2 separate regions of the Homo sapiens genome follow, and region 1 is linked to region 2. Evidence: promoter capture Hi-C in 16 types of primary human blood cells and fetal thymus (Javierre and others, 2016). All regions are on one chromosome and are shown on one strand. Each heading gives the region's core, a stretch centred on a gene start or on the middle of the fragment in contact. The rest is flanking DNA. Distances are from core to core; before and after follow the strand shown. Region 1 overlaps CAB39L (calcium binding protein 39 like). Region 2 holds the start of RCBTB1 (RCC1 and BTB domain containing protein 1).

Region 1 (3,902 bases), core at 813-3,312, 270 kb before region 2:
CCCTGAGCGATCTGTGTGTCTACCTACAGATGGGCAAAGCATTTTTGCACCCTGGCCCCATTCCCAGTTCTCCCCTGAGAACTCAGTCCTCCTTGAAGACTTGGTGATGCCTGTCAATTGAGCTCCCATTTAGCGGCTCATTGTGCCCAGGGGCTCACATCTGCAAGTTAAAATTGCTTTTATCAACATCTGATACAATGGTTCTCATTTCACATAAATAATCACAGACTTGACTAAAATGAATATATTATTCTAGGTTAATTTTTTTCCATTCAAATGTTTATACTCCATCTACCCAGAACAATTACAGCAGAAAAAATAGGCACCTCCAAAGTCTTCCCAAGAATGATGACTTTCTGAAATGACACACTGTACAAACTGGACAAATGAGACGACTGACTGTGACAGGGGCCGGGGAGCTCTTCAAGGGGCCGTTTTCTTCAAGTCTCGGATCTGTTTAATCAAGTAGTTCTTCTCGTCAGCGAACTGCTCATCATCCGTCCTTTCTTTTTGGAAGCTGCTCAGAAACTCAATGAGTTTGGGCTGATTTTTTAACAGGATCTCCACAATAGGCTGTGTTTTGTGAGGACTGGCCACAAACACCTGAAACAAAAAGAAACAAATACTTAGGAGTGCAAGCCAGGGACCTCACCCACGCTACAGCAGTGCAGGCCAGGGACCTCACCCACACTACTCGCGTTTCATGCGTGACTGATATTATTAATGCGTAGAAGCCCCTGACTCTAATTCTCAGTGAGGGTGATCAATACAGTCACACACCACATAACGACATTTCAGTCAACAACAGACCATGTATACGACTGTAATCCCATAGCACCATAATGGAGCTGAAAAATTCCCATTGCCTTGTGATATCGTAGGTCAGTGCATTTACTCATGTGTCTGTGGTGATGCTGGTGTAAACAAACCTACTGCCCGGCCAGCTGCATAAAATTCAAGCCCGTACAATTATGCACAGTGCATAATACTTGATAATCAACGACGATGGTACTGGTTTACGTATTTACTATACTATACGTCTAATCATTATTTTAGAGTATATGCCTTCTACTTAGTAAACAAAAAGTTAACTGTAAAACAGCCTCAGGCAGGTCCCTCAGGAGGTATCCAGAAGAAGGCACTGTTATCGTAGGAGGTGACACCTCCATGGGTGTTATGGCCCCTGCAGACTTTCCAGGGGGACAAGATGTGGAGGTGGAAGCAGTGATACTGATGATCCTGACCCTGTGTAGGCCGAGGCTAATGTGAGTGTTTATGTCTTAGTTTTTAACAAAGAAGTTTAAAAAGTAAAAAATAAAAAACTTTAAGCACAGAAAAAGCTTATAGAATAAGGATATAAAGAAAGAAAATGTTTTTGTACAGCTGTATAATGTGTTTGTTTTAAGCTGTGTTATTGCAAAAGAGTAAAAAAGTTTTAAAAAATTAAAAAATAAACTTTTTATAAAAGTAAAAAGTTACAGTAAGCTAAGGTTATTTTTATGTATGTATTTATTTATTTTTGAGACAGGGTCTCGCTCTGTCACCCAGGCTGACGTGCAGTGGCACTATCAGAGCTCACTGCAGACTGGAACTCCTGGGCTCAAGCGATCCTCCCGCCTCAGCTTCCCCAGTGGCTAGGACTACAAGTGCATGCCACTGCACCTGGCTAATTTAAAAAGTTTTTCGTAGAGGCAGGCCTGACTATGACTGCCAAGGCTGGTCTCGAATTCCTGGTTTCAAACAATCCTTCCACCTTGGCCTCCCAAAGCTGTGGGATTACAGGCATGAGCCACCATGCCTGGCCCTAAGGTTAACTTATTATTAAAACAAGAAAAAAAATTTTTTAAATCAATTTAGTGTAGTCTAAGCAGTGTTTATGAAGTCTACAGTAGTGTACGGTAATGTCCTAGGCCTTCGCATTCACTCACCATTCAATCCCTGACTCCCCCAGAGCAACTGCCAGTCCTGTAAGCTCCATTTATGGTAAGTTCCCTATACAGGTGTACCATTTTTTCTCTTTTATGCCATCTTGTTACTGTATCTTTTCTATGTTTAGATACCCAAATACCATTGGGTTATAATTGCCTGCAGTATTCAGTATGGTAACATGCTGCACAGGTTTGTGCTCTAGGCGCAATAGCCCACACTATATAGCCTAGGTGTGTGGCAGGCTCCACCACCTAGGTCTGCGTAAATGCACTCTGTGATGTTCCCACACAAAGGACATCGCCTAGTGAGCATGTTTCTCAGAACAACTCCCTGCTGTTAAGCGCCACAGGCCTGCACTTCACCTTTCCTATCACTCTCCTAAGTCACTAGCTAGGAGCACGTGGGAGCTATCTATGAACATTTCATATTTGACTTTGTTTTACTTTTAAATATTTGTTCTTAACTATAAAATCTTTCAAACAGAAAATAACATAACAAATCCAGTATACGTACCTCACAAATTGAATAGATTTTACCATTGTGCCTCAAGAGTCTCTTTTTAAACAAATAAAACATTACAAATGGAACCAAACCCTCACCTTCCACCTTTCCCCTCCCACCTCCAGCAGTGTGCCACCATCTCTGGGCACATTTCAATCCTTATCCTCCTATTACATAGATATTTAAACATAAACAACATATAGTATGAAAGAGCTTATGATTTTTAAACATAATTTATTTTTTGAACACATAATATCATCACCTAGTTCAAAATTCAAAAAGGACAAACGTGAATAGTCCTCCTCTCACCTTCCCTCCCTGGAGGTCACCAATGTCACTGTTTGTTACATATGTGAAGCTTTAAAAATTACAACTGCTGGGCCAGGCGCGGTGGCTCATGCCTGTAATCCTAGTACTTTGGGAGGCCGAGGTGGGCGGATCACGAAGTCAGGAGATCGAGACCATCCTGGCTAACACGGTGAAATCCCATCTCTACTAAAAATACAAAAAATTAGCCAGGCGTGGTGGCGGGCGCCTGTAGTCCCAGCTACTCGGGAGGCTGTGGCAGGAGAATGGCGTGAACCCAGGAGGCGAAGCTTGCAGTGAGCTGAGATCGCGCCACTGCACTCTAGCCTGGGCAACAGAGTGAGACTCCGTCTCAAAAAAAAAAAAAAAAATTACAACTGCCCAGGTCCTACCTCCCAGATACGTCAACTCAGCAGGTCTGTGGTGGATGTCTAGCATTCTGTATTTCTATGAAGTTCCACAGAGATTCTTATGTGAACTCCTGGTGGAAACCACGATCTGATACTGACTGGTGCACTATTTTGTAAAAGACACACTCCTTAGTTACTGCTACATACATGACCACATGACCAGAATGCAGATCAAAGTGTCTCTGAGCCCTACAGAGCTCTCTGGTGTGATGGTCTGGCCTCCTGCCTCTGCCTGGCACCCCCTCTGCCCACCCATCCCTGTCCCATAGCTGTGCAGTGCCCAACTCTACAGGGAACACACTATGAAAGGGCTTAGTTATGGGGCAGTGGGGGTTTCATGGCTAAGCCTTTAAGGTTCCTCCACCCTAGCAAGTGTGGGGAAGGAGAAAACTACCCTAGGATGTTGAGTACCAATGTGGAGAATACAAGACTGCAGAGGCTCCCATCCCAGGAGGTGGCGATGACATTACATTTCCGGGTTTGGAACAGGAAGGCTCATGGTGTGGGCGGCATGAGAGCTAGTCCATGAGTCAGGCAGAGAATGTTTACACGTGGTGGTAAGAAAAGCAGCATTCCAGGAATACTGAATTGTCCCACTGCAGGCTCTGAGGTGGGCGGGACAGGACGTGGGAGCAACAGTAAGAATGAGTAAGGGAACGTGGGAGCTAAGGCGGCGCCGGCTCTGGAACCTGGGTTCAAATTCCACCTCTCCTACATGTTAGCAGTGTGTCCACCAGCAAAGTTTTGTTATCTAGA
Region 2 (4,130 bases), core at 965-3,464:
CTGTGAGCTTTTCTACCCCAGGAAAGAAGTGTGCTTTTGTGTATGTGTGTGTGTGTGTGTGTGTGTGTGTTTTAAATGTGATCTAACACACAGTTGACTTATATAATTATTTCATTAACTGATCTCCTCTACTAAGTCTATTCTGGCTAAATTCAGACAACACTCATCATACCCCTCTTGTGCATTCTTCAGCACGTACACAACATGTACTTTTTTTTTTTGAGATGGAGTCTCACTGTGTCGCCCAGGCTGGAGTGCAGTGGCACAATCTCGGCTCACTGCAACCTCTGCCTCCCCAGGTCAGGTAATTCTCGTACCTCAGCCTCCTGAGTAGCTGGGACTACAGGCGCACACCACCACGCCCAGCTAATTTTTTGTATTTTTAGTAGAGACGGGGTTTCACCATGTTGGCCAAGCTGGTCTTGAACTCCTGGCCTCGTGTAATCTGTCGCCTCAATCTCCCAAAATGCTGGGATTACAGATGTAAGCCACTGCGCCTGGCCAATATGTAACATTTTTAACTTTTTGTAAAACCAGAGAATATTTTGAAATGTGTCCGAATGCCCTGCCTAGATTCTAGACTCTGTGAGGCCCCAGCCTCCTTTCCTATGCATGACTTACTGTTTAATGTAGTACACACAGAAGGGATATCATCATCATAATAAAGGTCCTCACTTTCCTTCACAGTTTCATCTACCCCACAATGACTCCCAGGAAAAGGAGGGTACTGTTTCAGACTTCCCAGCTCCCGTATATTAGGTGGAGCCAAGTTCTTGCTGCAGCATACGGGCACGCTTTAAAATTTTCAAATCATTTTTTAAAAGCTACAAGCTTGACAGCTTTGGGTTTTTATGGCTACTTGTTTTCTGAAGTTCACAGAACTTTATCATTTGGATCACACACTTAAAAAAATCACTTGCAAAAATCTCTTTAAAGATGAATATGCTTCCTCTTCAAGAGAAACAGACTAGCGGGTAGAAGAAAAAGGACCCGTCTAGAGTATTAATAAATAGACTGATATTCACACAATGGATTAAATGGATTAAAGTCCATCCCACAGATGAACTGTTATATTAATAGAATCCAAATATACAGTTACATCCTCGACCCTGAAAGCAGTTTAAACGGGTGAAATTCACCCAGTGCTCACTTGAAATGAGTACTCTAAAGTTTAAAGCACCTATAAACTGCCCTCAGGATTCAATCATTTTTCCATTCCTTCCGGCATTATATACTTTGATGTTTTAATGTTATTAGCCCACAATACACACCAGTTTCAGAAACTCAGTTTTTGTCCTCTAAGGGCTTTTAGTCCTCCCAAAAAAAGAATAGGGCAAAAGCAAGGAAGATCATGAATCTGGTTTTCTAAAAGCATTATTACAAGACTGCTTTATAAAATTGTAATCCCCAGCTGCAGAGTTCCGCAGATGGCTTGAAAGTGTCTTACATGCAAATAAATAAAAACAAAAGGCCACTTATGCGAGCAGAACACAGCGTGCTCGATAGTCATCTTAAACCGAGCAGGTAGGTACTTTATCAGAGGCAGACAAGGGAAACGTCACTTATTTAGAGTTCACCGCACGCCTGGATAAAAGTCCTCACTAACAAAATCCCTGCCTTTGTGGATTCTGTGTCGGAAAGGGAAACGATAAAGAATACGGTTTGTGACAGCACTACTCTCAGGAGACGAAGGAGAGATGCTAAGATCTTGGAAAGGAGAGAGAATAGGAAGAGTCGGAGGGGAGATCTCCTCTCAGTAAAACGGCACCCACAGCAGTCAGACTTCAGCTACGAGCAAAATCGAGTCCGTGCACCTCAAAAAAGAGAGGGAGGCAGGGAAAACTTTCCCTCGCCTCTCCCCATCCTTCCCTCCTCCTCGCAGGAGAGCACATTAGCTGAGGTGCTGGCGGGGCCGGGCCGGGGACCCCATCCCTCGCCCCGGACGCAGCGCCCGCAGGGACTGCCCGGGAGCCCGAGCGAGGGAGGCGGGAGGTACAGGAGTAACGGGGCACTCCCGGCCCGGCCTGCGGGGAAGGGAAGCAGGGGCAGGGCCGAGGGGGAAGAGGCCTCCGCGAGCTCGACCCCGCGCCCACACGCTACCTGCGAGGTCAGCTGCTGCCGCGCCGTCCCGCGGGACCGCAGGGATCTCCGAAGCTCCAATGGGCGCAGAAGTGCGAGCGAGCGGCGGTGCCCACCGGCAGCGAAGAGGAGGAGCGCCAGGGCGCCGGGCCCGCCGGGTCACGTGGCCCCGGCCGCCTCACGTGACCCGGTGCAGCGCGCGCCCGGGACGCTACCCAGCCGAGCATCCCGCACCGCCCCGGCCCCGGCCCCGGCCGAAACCCTGCTCTTCGGGCCCTACAACCCGACTTCTTTAGAAGCCGATTGGCCGTCTCAGGCCCGCCCCGAGGCCCTGCCACTGGAGTGTCCCCATGAAATCCGGTGGCTGCTGCCGGGACTTAGAGGCTTTTGTGTCTGAGGAACCAGGAACGCGCGAGGCACGGGCTCCTGCTCTGCTCCCCGAGATGGCTTGGCTGTGGGGAGGGTCGGCCTACCACCCCAGAGACCTAGGACGGAAAAGCGACCGAGAAACTTGGCTCCCTGCCCACTCTAGAGCGCGTCTGGCCCCGGGGCACCACCCAGGTGGTGCTGCCTGGGAGGAAAGGCGGCGGAGCTGGGACTAGTTTGTTTTTACTGGAGACGCGCCTCCCTCCCTCCCCGCCCCTCACTTCCTGATTGAAAGTACCTGAGGCAGGCCAGGGACTAGGGAAGGTGGCAGCTGGACAAAGGTATGAAGGAAGGACGAGATGAGGCACAGGTCCTGGTATTGGAAAGAGGCAGAGGTACCTCGGAAGCATGCCATAGAGGTTAGACGGGACCTAAGAGGGCATCTGGTCCAACCGGATTCGTGTTACCAGCGAGTAAACTGAGGCCAGGAGAGGGACTGCTACGAGCTGCTCCAGCCTATCACCTATAAAGACTACAGTCCCTTTGTAAAATACCATACAGCTCTCGGAGAACTCCCAGTTGGCGCTGCAGGATAAAATCCAAACTTGTTGGCATAGCATTCCAGCCACTTGTTCACTTACCTTTCCCATTTGAGCTCCTAGGAATAAACAGAAAAACATTTCATTTTCTAAATATCACCAGATAACTTCACTTTTGGTAACTTGAATTATTAAAAAAGTCCTACCGTCCCTCATCTCTTGCCACTTCCCCAACATTACTGGAGGCTCTGGCTACAAATAATTTGTTTTCCTTGACTACTCAACTTTCTTTGGATTATTTACTTTTTCTCTAAGTTTCTTTACTCCTTTTTGCTTTGTTCATTCTTTTGTCTGTATCTGAAATGTCCTGAATCACCACCTCCCCCACTTAAAGAAAACCAGGGCCAATGATTAAAAAAAAAAAAAAAGGTATTAAGAAACTAATGCAATAAGAGAATTGAGCTTAGTTCTGTATCTATTCTGAGGTCTCGCTCCTGTTGCACTAGTTCCTGAATAAAATGTTTTTACCACTTCAACTACTGTTTGGCTCTGGTTTTCTTCAACAGCCTCCAAAGTACACATCAGTTTCCTACTCATCTTTCAAAATCCAGGTCAAATGCCGCCTACTCTTGTCTTCCCAGCATCCTCTTCCCTGATTTTTTAGCAATTGAAGTTCATCCAGACAGTGTCAGCTGCAACTTCTTCCCTGATTTCCAGAATACTATATATATTCTGATACACCTCACACTGCCCAGAAATAGACTGCGCATTTCCTGTAAAAGGTGAATTGTCTATTGCTGTCTTCTCCCTTAGATTATAAACTCTTTGAAACAGGATTCTTCTGGGTTTAGAACAGCGCCTGGCATGTGATAGACCCTTAATACTCACTGAATGAAGTGGCTTGCCCAAAGTAGTGGCAGTTGAGTGAATTTACTAGAAGAGGCCTGTTTTGCTCAAAGAAACTAAAATCAGTTTCTTTTGGTTGCAACCCGATCAAAAGAACTTGTGTAAACATGTCTGAGAGAAAAACGAGGGCATGGGGTGTGAGCAATCAAATATGTCCTGAGCCCTCACTGCTTATGTGTCAGATGCCATACTTGGAGCATCTTGGAGGATTAAAAGCTGAATGAGACATGGTTGCTGATA

Evidence for each region. The method cuts DNA at HindIII sites, captures the fragments that hold promoters and counts their contacts. A CHiCAGO score of 5 or more calls a contact.
Region 1: a contact is called between a fragment that was not itself captured here and the fragment with the promoter of RCBTB1 in region 2, in 5 of 17 cell types (endothelial precursors, megakaryocytes, total CD8 T cells and 2 more). The highest score is 8.7, in endothelial precursors.

Annotation. Positions count from the first base shown.
Region 1 is chr13:49,310,391-49,314,292 of GRCh38, forward strand. It overlaps CAB39L (calcium binding protein 39 like), which reads right to left. Exons shown (of 11, transcript NM_001079670.3): 11 at 1-603. The coding sequence ends at 424. Among named protein-coding and RNA genes, the nearest start is that of CDADC1, 64 kb to the left of the region's middle. RefSeq lists an enhancer at 3,567-3,902. The HindIII fragment of the contact is 1,448 bases long and covers 1,339-2,786 here.
Region 2 is chr13:49,583,344-49,587,473 of GRCh38, forward strand. It overlaps RCBTB1 (RCC1 and BTB domain containing protein 1), which reads right to left and starts at 2,215. Exons shown (of 13, transcript NM_018191.4): 1 at 2,101-2,215. RefSeq lists a silencer at 1,739-2,448. The HindIII fragment of the contact is 4,185 bases long and covers 830-4,130 here.